Linked DNA regions of Homo sapiens: all the other regions are linked to region 1. The links are contacts of gene promoters, found by promoter capture Hi-C in blood cells and fetal thymus (Javierre and others, 2016). All regions are on one chromosome and are shown on one strand. Each heading gives the region's core, a stretch centred on a gene start or on the middle of the fragment in contact. The rest is flanking DNA. Distances are from core to core; before and after follow the strand shown.

Region 1 (3,374 bases), core at 481-2,980:
CACTGCTTGGTCTCTGTTACTAAACCAGGGGCTCTTTATCATTTCTTTTGGTGCCATGGACCCCTATGGACAGATCTCTTCTAAGAATTGGTTTTAAAACGCATAACATAAAATACATAGGATTACAAGGTGCTCCAATTATATTGAAATCATCAAAATATTTTTTAAAACAAAATTATAGTAAATGTGTCTTCTTAATGCATTAAATGAGCTCTAATAACTACTGTATTTTTGTAGTAACGAGCATAAATATTTCAAGATCCCTGACATGACTGCAATGTAACATGAAAATATCTGTGCTTTCCATTGATGACAAAGTCATCAATGTTAATACTACTGTGGCTTGTTATCTACACTATAATTGAAAGAAACAAAGTTCAGTTAGAGGTTAGTGAAAATGAAGTTGTCATTTTTTCCCCCATACAAGTTCACATACCCCCTGAATTAAGAACTTCTGCCCTAATTTATCAATATGTTTCACATTTTTATGTATGTGTGACGTTACACTGCTGATGCAGAGAGCCTTCTGAGTCTATTCAGTATTTCTCCTTGGGGATGCCTTGGAATATACAATCCTCTTAAGAAAGAGAAAAGCAGCCCTTAACATCTGGGAGCTAAGCTGGGCTTAACTAACACCAAGGCTGGCAGTCACAGCTGGGCCTTGGTGTTACCACTGCTTCCTAACAACACCCGATCCAGAGCAAAGCTCCTGCTTCCTTGAACTCGCCCCAAAATCACCGAACCAAAGCCCAAATCCTATAATAAATCTAACTCTTTTACTGAAATATGTCACTGTGTTCCTACGTGTGCGTTCTCCTTGCAGCAATGAGAAACCCAATTTCTTCAACTACAGGTGTGCCCCTAGTGGTCTTTGGCTGGAGGGCAGTGGCACGTCACTGTACAAATTCTAAATTTTTCCAGATGCTCGCCTGGATGGGGCTTACACTTTTTATAGGATTAGGGCAGAAATACAGAATGAAATAGGAAATACATCCTCATTATGAGACAGTGCAACAATTGTTTTGGCTAGAACACAGGTTTCAAAGGCAGACTAATGGGTTTGGATCCTAGCTTCCCACTTCCTATGTGGTCTTGTACAAATTACTTCTACGTGCCTCAGTTTCTTCATCTATGTATTGGGAATAATAATCATGCCCACCTACTTCCGTTGTTGGAAAGATTAGATGAATGTGAATAAAGAACTTAGATCAGGGCTGCGCATATCAAAGTGCTGTATCAGTGCTTGTTTACTCTTGTTAATAAGATAATTATTGCCATTATCAGTTACTTCTACAAGTATTAAGGGACAAACATTTGATTTCCAGAGAGGAGGCTTACCGCTTGTTTCTTAACGGGAAAAAATAAGGTCAGAGCCTTTTCCGATTAAAGGACACAGCATATTAGTTTAAATTTAAAACCTGAGAAACCTCAAGTCCTTGGTTAAAACCTTTCGTAAGGTAAATCCAGGCCGCCAACCGGCGGCTTCCGGCTGCGAAGCTTTCGAAGCCGCCGGTGGCCCTCCAAGCGCCCCCTCTCGGCAGCCTCTGCTCACAGAAATCCCAGTACACGCCGCTGGGCGCCCAGTCGCCGCTGCAAAGACAGTTTCCCAGCGCCGCGGCAACGCCAGGCGCCTCCCTCCTCGCGCCTCCGCGTACCGTCCACACAGAGCCGGCGCTTTCTTGCCGCCTAGCAACCGCCGGCGCAGGGGCGGAGCCTCCTGGAGGGCGGGGTTTGCGTTCACCCGCTGCCCGGGCGCGACGCGCTGCGGCTCAGCGACGCGGCTTCTAGAACCGGGTGATTGAACTAAACCTTCGCCGCACCGAGTTTGCAGTACGGCCGTCACCCGCACCGCTGCCTGCTTGCGGTTGGAGAAATCAAGGCCCTACCGGGCCTCCGTAGTCACCTCTCTATAGTGGGCGTGGCCGAGGCCGGGGTGACCCTGCCGGAGCCTCCGCTGCCAGCGACATGTTCAAGGTGAGAGCGTGGAGTCGAGTCACAGCTGTCACCGCCCCCTCCCGGCCGCCCGAGCCCTCCCCGCGCTCTCTTGGGGCCTCTCTGCAGCCAGGCCTGGCTCACCCCGAGGCTTTTCCCGCCACTGGGCCGGCTGCGTCCCGGCCCCGCGGTTCATTCACTGGTCTACTGGGGATGAGCGGCTGCCGGGCGGAGGCGGGAGACCCCCGGGTGGGTGGGGGCGGCCCTTTGGGTTGTGCTTTCGTGAATTAAACACTTTGAAAATTTAAAGTGCCTTCCCCCAAAGTACCCATCCCCTCGGCTAGTACCCTCTTGGGATCGTGGGTAGGGTGAGGCCAGCTCAGGGCACTGTGGGGTTCGCGGCTTTAGTTGCCTGGCAGGGTCAGGTTTCAGAACCTGATGTGTGGATGGGGGAGGGTCATTTTAGGAGAAGCTGTGCAGGGTATGGGGGAGGCTGGGGTGGGATGGCTGGGTGACGAGGGAAGCTGGAGCTTTGCTCCACTCCTCAGGGAACATTATTTAATACGGGCCAGTGGACCCCCTTCCCTGCGTTTTGTGAACTCGTGTCCTTTGGAAAAAAATCGACTTTTACGATGAAGACTTAATTTCGAAAATCTGCACTTTAGCATAAAGCCATTATTCTACTTTTTAAAAAGTAAATTATATGTATTTTGTCATAAAAAATCACAGGCTACCAGAAATTAATCTACAAAATTGAGTCTTCAAGAAGCATAGTACCCATAAAATAGTGCTAATGAAATCTCAGAATTGTACTATTCATTTAAAAGTTTTATTGAGCTCTGCAATGTGCTTTGGGTACGTTAATAAAGGCTGTAAAATCAGAACATGCATTCTGCCTTCTAGTCCTGGCATTGCCACTTTCTAGCTGTGTGACCTTGGGCAAGTCACTGTGCCTATCTTCCTTTGGTGAAGTTGGGGTAATAACATCTACCTCATAGGGTTGTTATAAGGAGTAAGTTGGTATGTGTAAAGCACTTGGAAAAGGCCTAGTATTTGCTCTTACTCTGTTTTCAGGCAGCTCACAGTTTAGTCAGGAAGACAGATCCTATAATCAACATTCATTTGATAAATTTGTGTGTTAAACACCTGTTATGTGCTAGGAGCTCAGCTCCATTTCAGGGTTACAACAAGGAAAGATATGCTGTGGCCAGTTTAACTATATGTGTACCAACAGTGTAGTAAAGTAGTAAAAAGGAGAGCAGGATCCACTTGGCTTAACCAGGGGTTCCTAACCTGGGGCCCTCAGCTCCTCAAAGGATCTGCACATAGATTTCAGAGGATCCCTGAACTTTGATGGGGAAAAAACATAACTATTTTTAGCAATCTCCAATTGGAATTGAGCACTTCCTTTAGTTACGCATATGGGTAATGTCTCAGTTATC
Region 2 (3,374 bases), core at 408-2,907, 300 kb before region 1:
GCAAATATGAAAAAGTCAAGGGCTCCAGAAATTTACAGTCTTATGGCAAAGTGGACAAGTAAACAGGTGAGTATTTTTAAATGTAGTAATAATAATGCAGCTACCATTTACTAAGTGATTATGGTAAGTACTACTTAATACCTACAACAACCCTGTGAGGCAGGTGGTACAATATTCTCTACATTTCACAGCAAAGCAAACTGAAGTTTAGAGAGGTTGAGTAACTTATCTGGAGTCACGCAATTCAGATCTCAAGCTACGTTAGTCCCAATCAGGGCTCGTCAACTTCTGGAATATGGAGCATGGGGTTTAAATTGGTAGAGGCAACTGTGATTTTTGAAAAATCAGAAAATAGTGTAACTATCTAAACATGCTTTCTTTTCGTGAAAAACAAATGAATGTGCTCATGACTCAGGCAGGCATAATCAGTATTGCAACCAAGGCTAGGTGGTGGTGGTTCTGACCACTATAACTTTTAAAATTCACAGTCATCCCTTGTGTAATTTACACCAGTTATACCAAGACAGAACTCAGATTCTGACGTCTTTGAAATGATACTTCTGCAAAGTTCTGTCGTGATCTCCATCAGATCCAAAAACTGTGTTTACCTAATCAAAATTCTTACACAGAACATCAAGATGAATCTAATATCTCAAAAGCCAACATTAAAAAGCAAAAATACAGTGACAATTTGTCAACTTAACTTCTGACTTACTGAGAATCAAGACCATCCACATCCCAAATTACTTGCAAAGAAAAGCTTGAAAATGGCAGCCCCAAACCTTTGTCATTTACAAACATAAAAATTATAAAATTTAATCAGCTTGTTTCAAATGCAAAGTTCAAGATTCCCAAACTCTGGGTCACTGAAAGCAGTTGTTGTTTTGGTCTATTTTTGATATCACTAATCAACAAACTACATTTTAATATACCTTCAGTTTCAAAACCAAACAAGTCACTTAAAAATGCACTTGTTGATAAATTATACTTTTTCCTACATAAATTGAAATGAAGGTCATTTATGAGAAAAAAGCAAAAGCTTATTTATGTATATTGTAAGATGACATTAATGTTGAACCCTCTAATGCAATCTTTAATAAACTGATACAGAAAATGAGAGGATGAGAGTCTGAAATGACTGGCAAATATCACTGTGCACTGATCGCTGCCATGGGAACAAAGGAAAGATACCTCACTCAGGTGAAGAGAAAGAGAGGGGACAAATGAAGGGAGACACAAAACGGCGTGATGGTAAGGGAATGCATGGTTCAATATTGCTGGAATGTGAGGGTAAAGGGTGGCACAGGACATGGCAGGAAATGCAGCCGACTGCTAAGCTGAAGCCAGGTCATGAAGGGCCTCATGCACAGGCAGAAGGGCTCCGACTTTATCCTTGCAGGCCAAGGGTTTCTCAATCTGGTCAGGTGTCAAAATCTCTTAGGGAATTTAAAAACAAAGCATCCAGTCCAGCAGCTCTACAGAATTAGAATCTGCAGCGCTGGGACCCGCTATATAGAGACAGATTTAGGGGCGCCCTGCCTCTGGGACTCTGATGAGAGGCTGGAGAACATCTGCTGCAGGACTGGGAGACTTTCACACGGAGCAGTGACTAAGTCAGGTGCCCGTTTTTGCTGGCCTTGGAAAGGTAGATCCAATGAGATCAAAGCATGGAGCTGACCTGAGTCTACTGCAGTAATGCAGGTGATAGATGACGAGGCCTTGAATCAGGACGGAGGTAGTACAACTGGCGGAGTGGGCTGGATTTGAGGCCTATCTTGGGACTGAAATGAGTAGAACTTGGTGTCTGACTGAAAACCCAACATGACGAAGAAGCCAAGGATAACTGGGTTTAAATTTAGGTGACTGAGTGACTGGGGTAAGAAATGTGAGAGAAATGAGGAAAAGGATCTCTCTTCCTGCATGTTTGATTAACTTAAGGTCCTAAGAATAACGTCCTGAAAAGCCCTAAGAACCAGTGATTGTCACTATTGCTTTGTGCTCACGGCACCCTTTGCTTGCTTCTCTTGGAATATGTGATTCACTGTGTGGCCACTGTCTGGTTTTTCTCCCCGTCTTTCCCATTGACACAGCAGAACCTGTATTTTCATTACTCAGTCTTTTAAGACCCAGTCTGGTGATGGTAGATGATCAGAATATTGATGAATCAACGATTCACTGAATGAATGAGATGTGAAGCCAGCTGCTTAATATTCAAGTCTGAAATTGGAAGGCTGACACACTTTGGGGAGCCCTCAACTGTGTTAACTAAGCTTTGCCATCATGCAGTGAGAATCTGCAGTGTGAGGACAGAGTCCTGGGGAATGCCACAGTTGAAGGGAGGGGCAAGAGTAGTTCATAAACCAGAGAAGGGAAAGCTGGAGAGGGCAGTAGAAGGGCATGAAGGAAGCTAGGGAGTTAAAAGATGCAGGAACCCTAGTAAGGCCCATGGCAATAATGCAGCACCACACAAGAAGGAACGTGGAGGAGGAATGTCCACCGTAGTAGCATGAGGTCGCTGATGTTCTTGGTTAAAATCAGTGGAGTGAAGGCTGTAGGGGGTCAGACTAGAGTGGGCTGAGGAGTCAATGGAACATGTGAATTTCTTCAAGTATGTAAAAAGGCAAACAAAAGGACAATAACTAGAATGGGTTGCAGAGTCAAGGACTTTTCCGTTTAGTATTAATAGATAAAAATACTCAAGCATGCTCAGTCTGTGGGAGAAAACGGAATAGAAAGTGAGAGACTGAAGCCAGAGCACATGATGAAATTTTGGGATCCAGATCTCAGAGGAAAAGGGATAAATGAAACTAGGAGCAAAGATGAAGGAATTTTCCTTAAATAGAAGAGAAACATGCTATCCTTCTGAGACTTGAATGAGAATGTAGCTATGCTGGGTTTAGGGAAGCAGGGAAGGTGATAATGCAGAAAGTTGTAGTTCATGGCTGGTGGCTTCAATCATAGGTATGAAACAGGAGGCAAGAACTTGGATAATCAGTGAGAAAACAACAGACTGGGTTAAGAGCTTGAGAAACTAGAGAAAATGAGTGATCCAGGACAAGCTTAATGATATGAAGGCTTAAAGAGTCCAACTGGTTAAAGTCTTTGCAGTTAGAAAACAACTACAGGTTCTCTAAACGCTGGACATAACTATCTAAATTAAAGTATTTTGATTATGCTTTATAAAAATGGTTTGTAGGGAGAAAGAGTCAATATTAATGTTCTTACTTCTGGACTGATATGTACTTACCCTTTTTCAAAGCTATTTTTATGATATACCCGGCTAACTGGGCCAAGGTTATTTTCTTAAAGGTGGTTTGGAATTTCAAACTGAGGTAGCAGTGGAGGGATAAAGTTATCACCAAACTAGGCAGAAA
Region 3 (3,374 bases), core at 456-2,955, 260 kb before region 1:
TATTCAACCAAAAATTCATCATATTCTGATTCATACCACTGAGGTTTTCTTGTTTCTCTGGATTTGTTTTTATATTCTTTATGTGATTTTAGAAGGAAGAAAAAATAAGTGTGTGTGTTCTCTAGTCTATGTTGAATTTGAAGTCATTATGCATTTTTATGTGCCAAATAAAACAGCATGGAAATATGTAAATATAAAAAAAGCAAAAGAACCTATGAGACAGTAATAAAAAAAATCAATAGTAGTGGAAGGTTACAACAACTATCAACACTTAACAGATCAACTAGTCTAAAAGGAAAAGAGAAAATGTATATAATCGATATTAATCTAATAACTGTAATTCAAGTTCCATTCTCTAAGAAAAGAATATTTTATTTTCAAATAGCCCTGCCTACTCCACGTCAAGAAGAGGAAAAGAAAATATCTGCTGTTGTAAATAGAGCCCCATCCTTCCTTGCCCTGTCCCATCTGGAACTTTTGTAGGCTTTGCTCAAATAGTCAAGGCCAAGTTTTTGTATTAGTTTTTCCATAAAACCACGCTGAGCCAATCAGTAATTTCAAGGTTTTGTTTGTTTAAAATCTAAGAGTCCAAACTTTCACAATCTATTAAAACTTGGCTGTAAAATGACAAACCTTCTTAAAGCCTATTTTCTCAAAGCTTCTATTCCTGCTCAGATTAAGAGTTGACACAATACTCTCTGAACCTACTTGTACCAATGAGCTACAAACACTAGTTTTAAATGCTTTTGTTTTTAAGGCTTAGCTTGATGTGAGGAAATGCACACATTCTAACTAGTTTTCAGATATTTAAAGCAGTACAGCCTCCTTAATAAAGTACTGCCATTTAATGCATTCAATAATTTAGCAATATCCATGTTCATTCCATAACATTCTACCATATATCATAATGGAATGAGTAAAACAACTCAACTCTTTGGATCACTCTTTTATTTCATAGTGAAAAACTTTAAAATAGCTTATTAGTTTTTGCTGAAATTCTGAAAAGAAATTCTATTCACGTTTCCTCTACTGAAGTATTCTACCTTTAGTTGCAGACTTAGTTCGAGCAGTGTGAGAAACACTTGATGTAATCAAAGGATGAAGACAGGATTCTGACATGGTATCAAGTGGAGATTTAGACTACATTGTACATGGAATAAATGAAATAAAACCATCCTAGGTAAAATTTTTAAAAGGTTAATTTCTGTCAAATGCAGTACATGATGAAGAAAGGTTTAAGTATCAGAAACTGTTTTCTTATACATTTCCTTTTTCTTGCACCTGCTACCTTTCCCAAAATTGGGCATTTAATTTATCTCTGAACTAGTCATTAACATAGTTGTTAACTTAGTAAGTTTTCTTATCAAACCCCTTCTCAATGAGCAATATGTCTCCTTGTATTAGAAAATCTTTCTGGCCGGGCGTGGTGGCTCACGCCTATAATCCCAGCACTTTGGGAGGCCGAGGCTGGCGGATCACAAGGTCAGGAGATCGAGAACATCCTGGCCAAGATAGTGAAACCCTGTCTCTACTACAATACAAAAAATTAGCCAGGCGTGGTGGCACGTGCCTGTAGTCCCAGCTACTCAGGAGGCTGAGGCAGGGGAACTGCTTGAACTCAGGAGGCAAAGGTTGCAGTGAGCCAAATTCATGCCACTGCACTCCAGCCTGGTGATAGAGCGAGACTCCGTCTCAAAAAAAAGAAAGAAAAGAAAATATTTTTCTGATACTGTATTAGGATTTGGGGTTTTTTTAAATTAGTGCAGTCTCGCTTTCATGTTACTTTATTCAAGCTAATTATGTGCTTTCCTTCATTTTCTGGTAACTAGTTGTAAAAATCATGCCTTGCAGGTTTACAGTTTTCAAAACACTCTAAATTTTTTTTTTTTTTTTCAGACGGAGTTTCACTCTTGTTGCCCAGGCTGGAGTGCAACATCGCCATCTCAGCTCACTACAATCTCTGCCTCCCAGGTTCAAGCAATTCTCCTACCTCAGCCTCCCAAAAGTAGCTGGCATTTACAGGCATGCACCACCACGCCTGGCTAATTTTTTGTATTTTTTACTAGTAGAGACAGGGTTTCACCACGTTGGCCAGGCTGGTTTCGAACTCCTGACCTCAGGTGATCCACCCGCCTCAGCCTCCCAAAGTGCTGGGATTACAGGTGTGAGGCACCGTGCCCAGCCCTAAATATTCTTAAACTATGATCTTTCTTAACATAATTGTCTTGCCAACTCCCTTGTCACTGATCACCAACGCTGTAATTTGACCCATATTGACCATACTATATCTCACCTACATGAATGCATACTTACTATTATTGCTTTTCCTAAATACATTACTTTCGGCCTATGAGGTTCTGTAAACTCAGTGTTAACACTTACAGTATTCTCTGTATACCTTAAGCACTGGCAAGAATATAACACTGGGCCTTTCAACAACTAGAACAAATATTTTAAATGGACAGTTCCAGAATTGTGGGGTATTTTTACATTGATCTTTTGCTAATGCAATCAGCAATGTGTTTTGCACATGGAATTTAATAAATCCTTTAATCATTAAAAAAATAATAAAAGAAAAGAACAAGCTGGGCAATGCAGGGGCAGGTTTGAAATACGCCTGCTTCTCAAAAGACCAACAACAGGCATGCTCCAGGTTGAGTATCAGCAACCATTAATTTCATGACCATTCTCTGGAGCAAAGCTAGGGAGCCAGCTAATTTTTACCCCAAAAAAATCTCCAAACCAAGCTTTTTCCAGGGGGTTGGGAAGACAATAAAATACAAGATAATAATCTAAAAGAGGGGAAGAAACTGGGAGAAAGCACAAACATATACAATTTGAAATAAGAAAAAAAAAAAACAGAAAAAAAGAAAACAACTTGTATGAAAATGGTCTAGAATTCTACACTAGCACAGTGACGGAAAATGTAAATTACCAGCATTAACTCAATAAAAGAAAACCCGATCGTAATGAATTTTTTTTTTTTTTTTTTTCTTTTTTTTAAAAGAGGGGGCCTGGGCACAGTGGCTCACACCCGTAATCCCAGCGCTTTGGGAAGCCAAGGCAGGAGATCACTTGCAGCAAGGAGTTCAAGACCAGCCTGGACAAAATAGCTAGACTCCATCTTGACAAAATAATTTTAAAAATTAGCTAGGCGGCCGGGCATGGTGACTAATGCCTGTAATCCCAGCACTTTGGAAGGCTGAGGTGGGTGGATCACCTGAGGTCAGGAGTTCGAGACCAGCCTGGCCAACATGGTGAAACCCCATCTCTACCAAAAATACAAAACTTAGCTGGGCGTGGTTGCTCGCGCCTGTAGTCCCAGCTACTCAGGAGGCTGAGGCACGAGAATCACTTGAACCCAGGAGGCAGAG

Evidence for each region. The method cuts DNA at HindIII sites, captures the fragments that hold promoters and counts their contacts. A CHiCAGO score of 5 or more calls a contact.
Region 2: a contact is called between a fragment that was not itself captured here and the fragment with the promoter of APOO in region 1, in 2 of 17 cell types (total CD4 T cells and activated CD4 T cells). The highest score is 6.8, in total CD4 T cells.
Region 3: a contact is called between a fragment that was not itself captured here and the fragment with the promoter of APOO in region 1, in 6 of 17 cell types (activated CD4 T cells, total CD8 T cells, naive CD8 T cells and 3 more). The highest score is 6.8, in activated CD4 T cells.

What each region holds. Positions count from the first base shown.
Region 1 is chrX:23,906,294-23,909,667 of GRCh38, reverse strand. APOO (apolipoprotein O) reads left to right here and starts at 1,730. Exons shown (of 9, transcript NM_024122.5): 1 at 1,730-1,974. The coding sequence starts at 1,966. It overlaps CXorf58 (chromosome X open reading frame 58), which reads right to left and starts at 1,662. Exons shown (of 9, transcript NM_152761.3): 1 at 1,339-1,662. RefSeq lists an enhancer at 1,771-1,980 and a silencer at 2,161-2,330. The HindIII fragment of the contact is 4,107 bases long and covers 1,500-3,374 here.
Region 2 is chrX:24,201,613-24,204,986 of GRCh38, reverse strand. The region is part of intron 5 of ZFX (zinc finger protein X-linked); the gene reads right to left. Among named protein-coding and RNA genes, the nearest start is that of ZFX, 54 kb to the right of the region's middle. The HindIII fragment of the contact is 1,231 bases long and covers 1,042-2,272 here.
Region 3 is chrX:24,163,460-24,166,833 of GRCh38, reverse strand. The region is part of intron 3 of ZFX (zinc finger protein X-linked); the gene reads right to left. Among named protein-coding and RNA genes, the nearest start is that of ZFX, 15 kb to the right of the region's middle. The HindIII fragment of the contact is 2,089 bases long and covers 661-2,749 here.